Regions from separate parts of the Homo sapiens genome. Here regions 2, 3, 4 and 5 are each linked to region 1. The links are contacts of gene promoters, found by promoter capture Hi-C in human tissues and cell types (Jung and others, 2019). All regions are on one chromosome and are shown on one strand. Each heading gives the region's core, a stretch centred on a gene start or on the middle of the fragment in contact. The rest is flanking DNA. Distances are from core to core; before and after follow the strand shown.

What was found. Contacts are between HindIII fragments. The study calls those that stand out against the background at their distance.
Region 2: a contact is called between a fragment that was not itself captured here and the fragment with the promoter of ZKSCAN2 in region 1, in 1 of the 25 tissues and cell types used here (mesenchymal stem cells).
Region 3: a contact is called between a fragment that was not itself captured here and the fragment with the promoter of ZKSCAN2 in region 1, in 1 of the 25 tissues and cell types used here (mesenchymal stem cells).
Region 4: a contact is called between a fragment that was not itself captured here and the fragment with the promoter of ZKSCAN2 in region 1, in 1 of the 25 tissues and cell types used here (dorsolateral prefrontal cortex).
Region 5: a fragment that was not itself captured here is called in contact with the fragment with the promoter of ZKSCAN2 in region 1 in 1 of the 25 tissues and cell types used here (lymphoblastoid cells).

What each region holds. Positions count from the first base shown.
Region 1 is chr16:25,256,499-25,259,198 of GRCh38, forward strand. It overlaps ZKSCAN2 (zinc finger with KRAB and SCAN domains 2), which reads right to left and starts at 1,347. Exons shown (of 7, transcript NM_001012981.5): 1 at 231-1,347. The coding sequence starts at 629. ZKSCAN2-DT (ZKSCAN2 divergent transcript) reads left to right here and starts at 1,079. Exons shown (of 1, transcript NR_170220.1): 1 at 1,079-2,700. RefSeq lists enhancers at 713-1,273, 1,689-2,008, 2,129-2,208 and silencers at 959-1,198, 1,279-1,478. The HindIII fragment of the contact is 3,469 bases long and covers 238-2,700 here.
Region 2 is chr16:27,248,765-27,251,464 of GRCh38, forward strand. The region is part of intron 2 of NSMCE1 (NSE1 component of SMC5/6 complex); the gene reads right to left. Among named protein-coding and RNA genes, the nearest start is that of NSMCE1-DT, 18 kb to the right of the region's middle. The HindIII fragment of the contact is 7,888 bases long and covers 1-2,700 here.
Region 3 is chr16:26,579,034-26,581,733 of GRCh38, forward strand. No RefSeq gene overlaps it. Among named protein-coding and RNA genes, the nearest start is that of LINC02195, 15 kb to the right of the region's middle. The HindIII fragment of the contact is 3,567 bases long and covers 1-2,700 here.
Region 4 is chr16:26,759,188-26,761,887 of GRCh38, forward strand. No RefSeq gene overlaps it. Among named protein-coding and RNA genes, the nearest start is that of LINC02195, 170 kb to the left of the region's middle. The HindIII fragment of the contact is 8,690 bases long and covers 1-2,700 here.
Region 5 is chr16:26,600,630-26,603,329 of GRCh38, forward strand. No RefSeq gene overlaps it. Among named protein-coding and RNA genes, the nearest start is that of LINC02195, 6.5 kb to the left of the region's middle. The HindIII fragment of the contact is 4,145 bases long and covers 1-2,700 here.

The DNA of each region.
Region 1 (2,700 bases), core at 97-2,596:
TCCATTGTAAGATAATATTTCAATCAAAGCTTTTATTTTTCTATTTCATGTGAAATTCTGATCCCCTTTTAAGTGGATTCACTTAAAGTGAAAAGACCCCCTTATAGGGTCTTTTATTAGTACCATTTATCTTTCTCTGAAGAGCACGTCTTTCTGCAATACATCCCTGCCCACATGCCTTTCCCATTCCCTTTTTTCTAAGTACAAAAATTTGGAAAATCCTCTCTCACCTGCTGTCTTAGTCTTCCAGTCTCTTTCTCCAAATGCACTACCAGGGCCACCGCTTCCTCTCCACTTTGCGGACACTGCTTCTGTGCCCAAGCCTGAATCTTCTCGGGTAAAATGGTGAGAAACTGCTCAATCACCAGCAGCTCAAGTATTTGCTCCTTGGAACGCATTTCTGGCTTCAGCCACCGGCAGCAAAGTTCCCAGAGTTTACTGAAAGCTTCATGGGGTCCAGTCACATCCTCATAACAGAATTGCCTGAAGCATTTGCGGAAGGTCTCAGAGCTATCCGATCCTTCCAGAATGGGCTCTGATGCCCACTCAGGGTCCTTTTCCACCTTCATTATTAGGCATCCCTCAACCTCCAGGGGCGCGTCGATCTGAGAGTCGAGGGCGACAGCCATGCTGCAGCCCAGGGGTCAACTTCACGTCTAGCTCAAGGTGGGGACCCAAAGAAGACTCCAAGCGCTCCCTGCTTAATGTTCCTGGGAGTGTGATAAGGTACGGAGGTAAAAACGGCCAGGTCGGCAGGAACAGGGTATTCCAGGCTGATTAATCAAATCTATGCCAGGCCCTTGAAAAGGTGAACGTATACTCTAAGATGCAAAAGCCTGGCCTCTTCTCCAAACAAGATGTGACCGCGCAATGTGGTTTTCCAGAGTGCATCCCTCTTAGTGCAAAGTCGGAAACCGGGAGGCTGGACGACTGGGAGAAAAATGAAGCAGGCTGAGGAAAGGCTGGGCGGAGGCGGACAGCCGGGCCGGGAGGGGGTGTGTCCGCTACTCCCGGGTCGGGCGCGGAGAGGCGAGTCCCCGAGTGGGTGGGGCCGGATGTGCAGGCCCCGCCCGGCGCCAGGTTCCGGGCTCGGGTCACCGCAGCACGTCCAGGCCGCCGCGGGTGCCGCTGGGGCCGCCGGATTCCGAGAGCGGCGCCGGGCTCTTTCGGGCCCACGACGGCCCCGACCGTCCTGAGGAAACCGCTGCCGCCGAGGAAAGGCCGCAAAAACTGTTCCGCCCGGAAGGGAGAAGAGCTGCGGGGCGAAGCCAGGGCTCGCAGGGGGCAGCGGCAGGCTGCTCGCGTTCGGCCTCGTCCACTCGGCCCGCGGAGAGCGCGGGGGGCGCTGGGAACCGCAGTCACGCATGCGCCGCCTGCCACCGAGCGCCGCGGGGCCCGCGCGAGGCGTCCTGGCGGGCGAGGGGCTGGGGGAGGGGGGGGGGGCCGTGCGGTGGACTCTCGCGAGAGCGCGCGGCGCGGTGACTCGTCGCTGAGGGACTTTAAGATTGTAGAGGGGCGCGGAGGGTCCTCCCCGGGGCGGAGGGACACAGAGGGATTCTAGGGAACCTGCCGTCGCGAGTCCCGCTTCAGGCGGAGAATCTAGGCGGCGGCGGGGCCTCCCTGAGGCGGAGGAGTCGGCACCGGGGCCTGGCTGCCGGGGAAGGAGAGCACGGGAGCGGGGACTCCTGTGTCTGGCGGAGGGACACGGCGTTCCGGTGGAGGGATCTGTTCCTTGTACCTGGTCCAGGGTTGCGGTCGGGGATGGAGCGGTTACCCCGACCCTGCGGGACCTTCTTCCTCTGGCGGAGGTGCACGGCGCGGCGTGGTGTTTTTCTGGCGGAAGTATCTGTGCGTGGCCCCAGGCCCTTCCCGGCGCGGTCTCATCTGGGGCCACTTGTTGGCCCTCGCGTTGGGGAGGTTCATGTGGTGCATCCTGATGAGAAGGGGGGTCACAGGGGTCTCGGGGCCAGGGTTCAGCCAGCCAGGCCCCAGCTTGCTCTCTTCTGGTGCTGCCCCTGTCCCTGAATTCATAGACCCGGCTTTCCCTCTCTTGAGCACCTACTATGTGCCAGGCTGCGCTTTGCGCATGTAGCAGAGGCAACAGTGTCACCTGGGAAGCTGGTTTCCCCCAAAGGAACTCTTGTCTGTCCGTTGTTGCAGAGCCAGCGCATGAGACCAAGTGTGAGTATCAGGCAGTGCAGCCTTCATTCAGTGGCCATGGAATTGGAGAAGTGGGAGGGTAGCTCGCAAATCAAGCTCTCAGCTCTTGGAAACTGAGAAGTTACAGGTAATAGGGAGTGTTGACGAAAAGTAAAACCGTGCAAAATATTTGAAGAGATTTATTGTGAGCCAAATACGAGTAACCACAGCCTGTGATACAGCCCTCTCGAGGCCCTGAGAACATGTGCCCAAGGTGGTCGGGGTGCAGCTTGGTTTTATGTTTTAGGTTGGCATGAGACATCAGTCAAATACATTAAATACATTGGTTTGGTCCAGGAAGGCGGGACAACGCAAAGGGGTGGGGGTGGGGGCTTCCAGGCTATAGGTAAATTTAAATATTTTCTAGTTGACAATTGGTTGAGTTTGTCTGAAGACCTGGGATTGATAGAAAGGAAGTGTTCAGGTTAAGATAAAAGATAGTGGAGACTAAGGTTCTTTTGAAGTCTTATGGTGGCTGCTCTTAGAGATAATAGATGACAA
Region 2 (2,700 bases), core at 177-2,676, 2.0 Mb after region 1:
CTGTACAACCGATTTGCAGTGTTCAAATATTTTGCACACTTCTTACTGGGTTGTATGTTTTTCCTTTTCCTTTTCTTTTTTTGAGACAGGATCTCCCTCTGTCACCCAAGCTGAAGTGCAGTGGCACAATCTCAGCTCACTCCAACCTCTGCCTCCCAGGCTCAAGCAACCCTCCCACATCAGCCTCCCAAGTAGCTGAAACTACAGGTGCATGCCACCATGCCTGACTAATTTTTGTATTTTTTTGTAGAGACGGAGTTTTGTCATGTTGCCCAGGCTGGCCTCAAACTCCTGAGCTCAAGCAATCCACCGGCTTCAGCCTCCCAGAGTGCTGGGATTACAGGTGTGAGCCACCACGCCCAGCCGGGTTGAATGTTTTCTTATTTTTGAGCTTTGAGAATTCTCTATATATTCTGAATACAAGTCATTCATTAAATACATTATTTGCAAATATTTTCTCTTAGTATTTTGCTTGTCTTTTCAGTCTCTAAAGAGTATTTTTTAATGTAAATTTTTAATTGTGAAGTTCAATTTATCGATTCATTCTCTTATGGAGCATGCTTTTGGAGCCAAGAAATCTTGGACTAATCATAGGTCACAGAGGTTTTCTCCTATGTTTTCTTCTGGAAGTTTTATAGTTTCAGGTTTTACATTTAGGTCTATGACTCATTTTGAGATAATTTTTGTATTTGGTGCAAAGTATGGCTTGCAGTTCATTTTTTGATTATGGATATCCAATTATTCCAGCACTCATTTTGGAAAAGACTATTTCCACTAAATTACCTTTGCACTTCTGTCAAAAATCAGCTGTCCACCTATGTGTGGGTCTGTTATCTAGCTCTCTTATTTTTTTCCCTTCATCTGTTTGTCCATCATGACATGACTACCACACTGTCTTGATAGGACAGCCATACAGTAAGTCTTGAAATCAGGCAGGGTTCCTCAAGTTTGTCTTTTTCAAAATAGTTTTGGCTCTTCTAGGTCCTTTACATTTCCATGTGAATTTCAGAATCAGCTTGTTAATTTTTATAAAAAGCCTTGCTGGGATCTAACTGGGATTTCTTTGAATCTATAGATCAATTTGGGGAGAATTGATACCTTAACAATACTGAATTTCCCAGCCCATGAACATGCTATGTCTTTCCACTTATTTAAATCTCCTTTGACTTCTCTCAACAATGTTTTGTAGTTTTCAGTGTACGGGTCTAACACATTTTTGCCAGATCTATTCCTAAGCATTTCTTATTTTTAATGTTATTATAAATGGTGCTATTTTTACATTACCATTTCTGATTATCCATTGCCAGCATATAGAGAAACAATTGGTATTTGGATATTGATTTTGTATCCTACAACTTTACTAAACTCACTTATTAGTTCCAGAAGATTTTTTGTAGATTCCATCAGATTTTCTACACAGATGATCATGTTGTCTGTGAACTGACAGTTTTACTGTGTCGTCCTTTCTAATCCAGCTACCTTTTGTTTCTTTTTCTCGCCTCAGTACACTAGCTAGAACAAAAGTGGTGAGAACAGACATTCTTGTCTTTCTCCTGAGATTAGGGAAAAGTATTCAGTCTTTCACCATTAAGAGTGATGTTAGCTGTAGGTTTTACAGAGATCCCCTTTATCAGGTTAAGGAAGTTCCCTTCTTTTCTCACTTTGCTGAGGGTATTGTTTTTGTTTTTGTTTTTTAATCAGGAATAGCTGTTGGATTTTTTTTTTTTTTTAAACTCTGTGTAGAGGGCCAGGCGCGGTGGCTCATGCCTGTAATCCCAGCACTTTGGGAAGCCAAGCCAGGGAGATCACTTGAGGCCAGGAGTTCAAGACCAGCCTGGCCAACACGGTGAAACCCCACCTCTACTAAAAATAACAAAAATTCGTCGGGCGTGGTGGCACGTGCCTGTAATCCCAGCTACTCGGGAGGCGGAGGCAGGAGAACTGCTTAAACCCAGGAGGCGGAGGTTGTAGCGAGCTGAGATGGCACCACTGCACTCCAGCCTGGGAGGCTTTTTTGAGACTCTCTCTCAAAAATAAAATAAAATAATAAAATAAATGAAATTTATTTAATTTTAACTGTTTTTTTTTTTTTTTTGAGATGGAGTTTTGCTCTTGTTGCCCAGGCTGGGGTGCAATGCACGATACCAGCTCACTGCAACCTCTGCCTCCCGGATTCAAGCAATTCTCCTGCCTCGGCCTCCCGAGCAGCTGGGATTACAGGCATGCACCACCGTGCCCAGCTAATTTTGTATTTTTAGTAGAGACGGGGTTTCTCCATGTTGGTCAGGCTAGTCTCGAACTCCCGACCTCAGGTGATCTGCCCACCTCAGCCTCCCAAAGTGCTGGGATTACAGGCGTGAGCTACCGCGCCCAGCCTTAATTTTAATTATTTAAAATATATATATATATATATATATATATATATAAATATATATATATATATAAAACTCTGTAGAGTTCAGACTCCTCACTTGTGTTCTAAGTCTATTTATCCTATTTATCCCCTGCTACTTAGGATCCCTTAGCTTCCTATAAAAAACTTTCTGCTACATCACACCAGGGCAAACATGAGATTTTGTCAAATACTTTTTCTGTACCTATTGAGATAAACACAAGATTTTTCTTTTTTAGCTTAATATGGTGAATTACACTGATTTTCAAATATTAATACTAAATCAACCCTGCAAAATCAGGATAAAC
Region 3 (2,700 bases), core at 142-2,641, 1.3 Mb after region 1:
TCCCTCCCTCCCTCCCTTCCTTCCCTCCCTTCCTTCCCTCCCTTGCTTCCCTCCCTCCTTCCTTCCTCCCTTCTTTCCTTCCCTCCCTCCCTGCTTCCTTCCTCCCTTCCCTCCCTCTCTGTTTCCTTCCTCCCTTCCCTCCCTCCCTCCTTCCTTCCTCCCTCCCTCCCCTTCTTCCTTCCTTCCTTCTTCTTCTCCTCCTTCCTGCCTGCCTCCCTCAGTACTTGCCACCAAGTAGCTGCTATGTGCCAGGTACTTTGCTATACTCTAGGAACAGAGAGAATGACTGGAGGCATTGCCTTTCCTTGAGTTTCTCCCATTCTTAGGTGGAGAAAGACTCTTGAATAGGGTATTGTCTTACAATTCACTAAGCTCTCTAGTTGAAGGATGACCAAGGTGAGGCAACTGAGATGAGAAGGCATACCCTGCTAAGGGGAGTAGCATAGCTGGGAGGGCTTCAGAAAGGAGGTGGCTTTGGATCAGTGCCTGAGAAAAGGGCAAGGAATGCATCAAGGAAGTAATGTAGGGTGGAGATGGGAGTGTGCAGATAGATGGAACCACCTAAGTGAAGAAGCCAAAATATAAATTTGGTGTGGCAGGCATAAAGACAATTGGGCCATAGAGGTAAATAAAGCCACTTTATGAAGGTCCGTGTGACAAGCTAAGGGATCATGTAAGTGCAGGGCTTAGCACAATGTTGAAATAAAGGAGGTACTTCAACTATATTTCCTGTAATAATTGGGATTGTTGGTTTTAATGACAGAAAACTCTCTGTATCAGTCAGGAGCTCAGCAGAAAGTAGATGGAACACTCAATTTGGTTAATATGAATAGAGTTTAATAAAGGATCTACTTACAAAACTGTGAAATAGCTGTAAAAAGCCAGCACAGGGATAGTGCAGCACCCCAGAGAACATAACAATGGGGCACCATTACTACACCAAGTCTGAAGTAGCAAGAGAAAGAGCTGTTACTAGATCCATCCCAAAGAGAGAGAAGGGAAAGAGACAGAGAGAGAGGAATGAGAGTAGAAGTGAGAAGCGGGCTGTCTGTGACCTTTGGTTGAGGTCATCTAGCTTACCCTCAGTGATGCCATGGGAATCAAGGAATAAATGGCCTCACTCTCCTCCCTCCCTCCAGGCTCTGCCAGTGCTCCCTGTTGGCCAATCCTGCTGGAAGCCGAACGCCTTGGGGACTGCTAGTGAAGTCATAGCTCAGCTTCCTGGGTAGTGATTCAGTTGAAGTAGGGAAGTATATAAATCCACAAGGCAAACAGGAGATAGGCAGCCCACCAGCTCAAACTGAATTAAGTCAAAGAGTAATTCATCAGGTTATGGGTGTAGAGCTGCTTCAAGCATTGCTTGTTCCAAGTCATCTTGTAGCCCTGCTTATCTTGGAGCTGGCAGAATTTTCAGACAATATAAGATGGCCCAATACCTAGGACATAATCTATATCCAACCAGCTTAGCAACCCAAATAGACAGAAGTCATATCTTTCCTAGAAATTCCAGGACTAGCTTAGGTCCAAGTTGGGTCCTACTTCCACTGGTGAAATGACTCTCACTTAAATATTCTGAGCCTCAGTTATCTCATCCTTAGAAAGAAACAATACTATCTTCATCTAGTGGTGGAAAGGAAGTAGAGAATCATTGTTAAAATTATGGACTTCAGAACCATACTGCCTATATTCAAATCCCAGATCATCCACCTGCAGGCCAGTGGCCTTGGCTGTGTCTTCATTTTTGTAAACCGTACTTTCTACATCCATAAGGTAGGGATGATAATAGTAGCTACTTCATTAAGTTGTTCAACAGCAGATTAGGTAAGACAAAGCATTAGAACTCTTAATAGAATGTCAGAAATCTAGTAAGAGCTTGATAAATGTTGGTTGATGTTTTTGTTCCTATTATTATTATCCACACATAGATTCCATTCCAGTGAGAAAAACCCTTTTCTTTTGAGTTTTCAGAAGGAGGATCCTTCCAGCTATCCTGCAAGAGACTACCCTATGCTGCATTGAGAATAATACTCAGGTATAAATTTCTTTCTTTCTTTTTTTTTTTTTTGAGACAGAGTCTCACTCTGTCACCCAGGCTGGAGTGCAGTGGCACAATCTCGGCTCACTGCAACCTCTGCCTCCCAGGTTCAAGCGATTCTTCTGCCTCAGCCTCCCGATTAGCTGAGACTATAGGCGCCTGCCACCACACCTGGCTACTTTTTGTATTTTTAGTAGAGACAGAGTTTCGCCATGTTGGCGAGGCTAGTCTCGAACTCCTGACCTCAAGTGATCTGCCCACCTCGGTCTCCCAAAGTGCTGGGATTACAGGCATGAGCCACCGCACCCGGCCTCAGGTGTAAATTTCTAAACTCTAGTTATGGGAGGAAACAATGATGTTGATTTGTTTTGCCTCTCTCATCCCACTGCTACCGTCTTCTGTGAACTTATTTCCTGTTGATTCTAACTCTCCCAAGTCATTGAAAAAAATCTTCTCAGCCATAATGGTTGGTTCCTCTTGCCCTGTGTAAGCTAGTGTTTTAGTCTCTTTTGTGTTGCTATCAAGGAATACCTGAGGCTGGGTAATTTATAAAGGAAAGAGGTTTGTTTTGGCTCATGGTTATGCAGGCTATACAAGAAGCATGGTGCTGGCATCTGCTCCTGGTGAGGCTTCAGGAAGCTTCCAATCATAGTAGAAGGCAAAGG
Region 4 (2,700 bases), core at 14-2,513, 1.5 Mb after region 1:
GAGGTTTAATAGACTCACAATTCCACGTGGTTGGGTCGGCCTCACAGTCATGGCAGAAGGCAAGGGAGGAGCAAAGGCACATCTTCCATGGCAGCACGCAAGTGTATGTGCAGGAGAGCTCCCCTTTATAAAACCATCAGATCTCCTGAGACTTATTCACCACCACGAGAACAGGATGGGAAACACCTGCCCCCATGATTCAATTACCTCCCACTGAGTCCCTCCCATGACATGTGGGAATTATAGGAGCTACAATTCAAGGTGAGATTTGGGTGGGGACACGGCCAAACCATAACACCATAAATTTAGGATTTGTGCAAGAACAGCCTTCACTAACTCAAATAAAAAAAAAAAAAACAAGTCAGGCTGGGCTCGGTGGCTCACGCCTGTAATCCCAGCACTTTGGGAGGCCAAGACAGGCAGATCATGAGGTCAGGAGATCAAGGCCATCCTGGCTAACACGCTGAAACCCCGTCTCTACTAAAAAAATACAAAAAAAAATTAGCCGGGCGTGGTGTCGGGTGCTTGTAGTCCCAGCTACTCTGGAGGCTGAGGCAGGAGAATGGCATGAACCAAGATTGTGCCACTGCACTCCAGCCTGGGAGACAGAGTGAGACTCCATAAAAAAAAAAAAAAGAAAAAGAAAATCACTTGAAGCCAGGAGGTGCGGGTTGCATGAGTTGAGATTGTGCCATCGCACTCCAGCCTGGGTGACAGGAGCGAAACTCAAAAAAATAAGAAGAATAAAAAAATCAGACCAAAAAATAGAAAGAGGCCAGGGAAGACTGTTCAGTCTCCCTCTAACCTAGGATGAAGGAGTCCTGACAGCTTATACCTGAAGAAGGAGAACACAATTTCTCCGCACCTTCCACCTCATGCCAATGAGATCAAATCCAATTCAGGGACTGTGCAAAAGGGAGCAAAAATCACAAACAGACTTGTCAAACATGAACTGCTCTCAAAACCCACTATGTATCAGAATCTCCTGATGGAGGTGGATTTAAAAACACGGATTATAACTCAATAATTCTAAACTGTCTCTCTGACATCTGCATTTTTAACATTCTCCCAAGGTAGTTCTTATGCACTCCAAAGTTTGAGAACTAGTAGTGTCTGTCTCTGTTCTTTCCTGCTTCATGCCTCCATGCCAAGGTCTCTCTCACTTCACCTTCCCCTGTGCACATGTAATGGTGCCCTCATTTCAAGCATGGGGGCCAGCTGGTGACTGCATTGGGATTTGGGTTTAGGAGGAAGTAGAAACTCTCACAGTTCTTTAGAAGGTGCTATTTTCTCTATTATCCCAGCTATTCCTGAGACCCTCCCATCAGGTGTGGTCCATTGGGCCCTCTAATAGCAAGGTGATGCCTTGTTTGCTGTTGAGATCACTCAATTGCCTCTCAGCATTCCATGTATAATAACCTCTCAGCATTCCATGTAAGGAAGCAATGTGATTGTGAGTGCAAGAGCGAGACAGCCCTGGACTCTAGCTGAATTCTATCACAGCTCCTATTACTTCCGATAGCACTATCTGGCCCAGGTCACCAGGTAACCAGCACATGGGCTCTGTGAAATACAGATCATGCCCCTCCCGGAATTAGCAAGGGTGTCATTTGCAGGGAACAGCAGATTAGAAGTGGTAATTCTAAACCTGTGCCAAGATCTTTCTCCATCTCTAGTGTGCTAACATTTGGTGTAGTTCAGCAGATGGGAGGGCTAGATTTGGGCACACATCTGTGTCCTAGACAAAGCTGCTTGGAAAGAGAGCCTAGATCCAGATTGAGAGATCTCATTCACTGAATGTGGTATGATAATCTGTATTCCTTTCTAAGGCCGGCTGAGGTTCACTTCAATCTGGCCAGGACTGCTTGGCTGATGGGTTGGAGGCAGAAGTTTGGGGTACGACATGGAATTTCCGGACTCTGGTTCTCCTCTTCCTTATCCTTTTTCTTGCTTTATTCACACCTTAGAAGTCAACATACTAATAAACCCTATTCAGGATGGTGGAGTTGGGTGACCCTACTACCAGAGGGTACATTCAAGGACATAGGGTGGAATACTTTATAAATCAGCTAATAAATAGAAATAAGAGGGTATTATTGTAGAGAGAATATCTTGGTCTACTGGATTGAACCTCAGTGTCCACATCTGTAAAGTAGAACCAATACGACCTAGTACAAAGTGCTTCGGACAAGCCACAGGTGGCACCTTGATATTGTGTGTCTGGTTGTTGTTAAAATTGCAGCAGAGTTCTCTCAAGCCCAAGGACTGAAAACAAATTAAAAGGCAAGTTCTTGGCCGGGCGTGGTGGTTCACGCATGGGATCCCAGCACTTCGGAGGCAGAGGCGGGCAGATCACCTGAGGTTAGGAGTTCGAGACCAGACTGGCCAACTTGATGAAACCCCATCTCTACTAAAAATAGGAAAATTATCTGGGGGTTGTGGTGGGTGCTTGTAATCCCAGCTACTCGGGAGGCTGAGACAGGAGAATCACTTGAACCCGGGAGGCAGAGGTTGCAGTGACCTGAGCCAGGGGTGACAAGAGTGAAACTCCATTTAAAAATAAAAGGCAAGTTCTTGTACCACTCTGCCTCTATAAAACAGGTTTTCTTTACCAAGGACCTGGAGAAAAAGAGTTAACAGGAAGGAAGGCTTCAGGGTTAGTAGGAAAATAGAAAACTATGTTTTGGGCTTTGAAATGAG
Region 5 (2,700 bases), core at 24-2,523, 1.3 Mb after region 1:
GAGGCCCAGGTGGGTGGATGCCCTGAGGTCAGGAGTTCAAGACCAGCCTGGCCAACATGGTGAAACCTCATCTCTACTAAAAACACAAAAATCAGCTGGGTACAGTGGCACACCCCTGTAATCCCAGGTACTCGGGAGCCTGAGGCAGGAGAATTGCTTGAACCTGGGAAGCGGAGAGGTTGCAGTGAGCTGAGACTGCACAATTGCACTCTCCAGCCTGAGCAACAAGAGCAAACTCCATCTCAAAGAAAAAAAAGAAAGAAAGAAAGAAAGAAAGAAAGAAAGAAAGAAAGAAAGAAAGAAAGAAAGAAAGAAAGAAAGAAAGAAAGAAAGAAGGAAAGCAAGCAAGCAAGCAAGCAAGCAAGAAAGAAAGCAAGAAAGAAAGCAAGCAAGAAAGCAAGCAAGCAAGAAAGCAAGAAAGCAAGCAAGCAAGCTATCCAGGTTGTTTTTGCAGCCTAGACCTGTCTTCTACCAAAGCCAATTCGTTTGATGTCTCATCTTACTTTCTCTTGAGAATCTTTCACTCCTACAAACACTTTGGCTTTGACATTTTTTTTTACTCCACTTGGGCACCCTATTAAAGTGAAACTGTCTTACTTGCCTTTTATGTATGATTTTATTTTGTCACCAAAAAAAAACTTTTTACTAAAGCTGATGCATCCATTATAAATTATTTGCTATTATTCTTAAAAGGCACTCTTTAGCTTAATGCATCTCATCATGTTAATGCTTTATAAAACTGACTTGATTTTAAATGGGAACTAGGAAGCCTTGTTGTCAGGAAGTTGCAAAGACTCACACCTCCAACATGTAAACCAAGGGGACAGCACCATCTTCCCCTTGGTGAATTTTGTTCCCAGGCTATTTGAGACACTTGGCAAAGATGTGCCAAGACACTTGGCAAAGATGTGCCTTGTCACTGAATGCCCGGGCTTCCTTGCCATATTCCTGTGAATCAATCTTCCATGACAGGCAGTGGCTTCCTGAAGCCTGCAAAAGTCTTCTAAACAGACAACTTGAATTCATTCCTATCTCTGAGCCTGTGTTTAGATGGGAGCTGATATTGAAGGGTTTGGCAGCATCTAATCTCTGCAATAAATTCTCCTAAGAGCTGAAATCTCTCCTCTTGCAGGGAGTGGTGGCTTCTTGAATGGCCTATCTTGTAGCTGCTGAAAGGAGAATGAGGAAAGACATAGCGGATGAGACATAAGGACCCCTCTCCCAGGTCCAGAGAATCAGAGCTAGAACCTAAATCCATCAGAAGAGATTGCAAGAGAAGCAGTTATGCCCTGGCAACATTTTAACCCAAAAGCAGTTCCATGAGTAGCCCAAAGGGGGTAAGGACACATCTGTTCATATCCACTGGCAGAGATGAGCTCAAGCTTCTGTTGTCCATGGATTGCACGACTGATTTTTAAAAATTCATTCAACAAATGTTTACTGAGCACCTACTAAGTGCCAAGCACTAGAACACCACAATGGGCAAGACGCAGAAGATCTCTGCTCTCATGGAGCTGGGGATCATGTCATCCCCACAAGGAAGAAAGCATGGAGTATGTCTGGACGGTCCTGACTAGGGAAGGAAAAGCAAATTGTGGGACCTTCAGGGAACCTGGAGGTTACTGGAAAGGTCTGCAGACAGACAAAGGAATCACAAGTAATGGTCAAGCTGATAAAAGTCAGGAACTGTTGAAAAAGGTTGAAGGAGCCTGGAAATCACTGGATGGGGTCCAGAGCAAGAGTAATTTTTATTTTTATGTTTTTATTGTTGCTGCTTCTCTTTTAGAGACAGGGTCTGGCTCTGTCACACAGGCTAGGGTGTAGTGGTGCAGTAGGATCATTGCGCACTGCAGCCTCAAACTCCTGGGCTCAAGTGATCCTCCTGCCTCATCTTCTCGAGTAACTGGGACTACAAGTGCATACCATCATGCCCAGCTAATCTTCTTCTTAAGGTTTTTGTACGGACAGGGTCTCACTATGTTGCCCAGGCTAGTCTCAAACTCCTGACCTCAAATGATCCTCCTGCCTCAGCTTCCCAAACTGTTGGGATTAAAGGCATGAGCCACTGAAACCAGCTCCCATTTATATGTTCAGCAAATACTTTCTGAGCATCTTTTCTTTGCAAAGCATTACTGCGCGTTGAGAATACAGCAGGGACCAAGATGGACATGCTCACTGCCCTCACAGAGATTAGTTAAGTGAGGGCCACAGAGAAGAAAACAAGCAATTCTAACATAGGCAGGATCCATGCAGTGACTGAGAAAGCCATAAGGATCTGGGAAAAGGGGAGGGACAGGCTCCTGATGTGGAAGAAGAGGTGGGAGAAGTTAGTGGGTGAAGACAAGCTGAGGTGAGTAAGGTGCAGGGAGCGAGGGGGAAGGGTTTCCCAGCTCAGGCTCACCCTAAGCAGAACAAGCATAACACATCAAATGTCCAGCTCCCAGTTCCATCCAGCTGGACGTAGAACTTATCGTCAACAGATGAAACTAGACAGTCAAGCAGCAGCCCAGATAAGACAGCAGTCAGATAAGACAGCAGTCAGATAAGACGGGTCTTTTACACTTTACCAAGTGGCTCGAACTTTACCCTCAGGTCATTGAGAAACAACAGGGAAGGGAGACTTTATTTATTTTTTTAACTTACTTTATTTTTTAATGTTTTGTTTTAATTTGTGTAGGTACATAATAGGTGTACATGTTT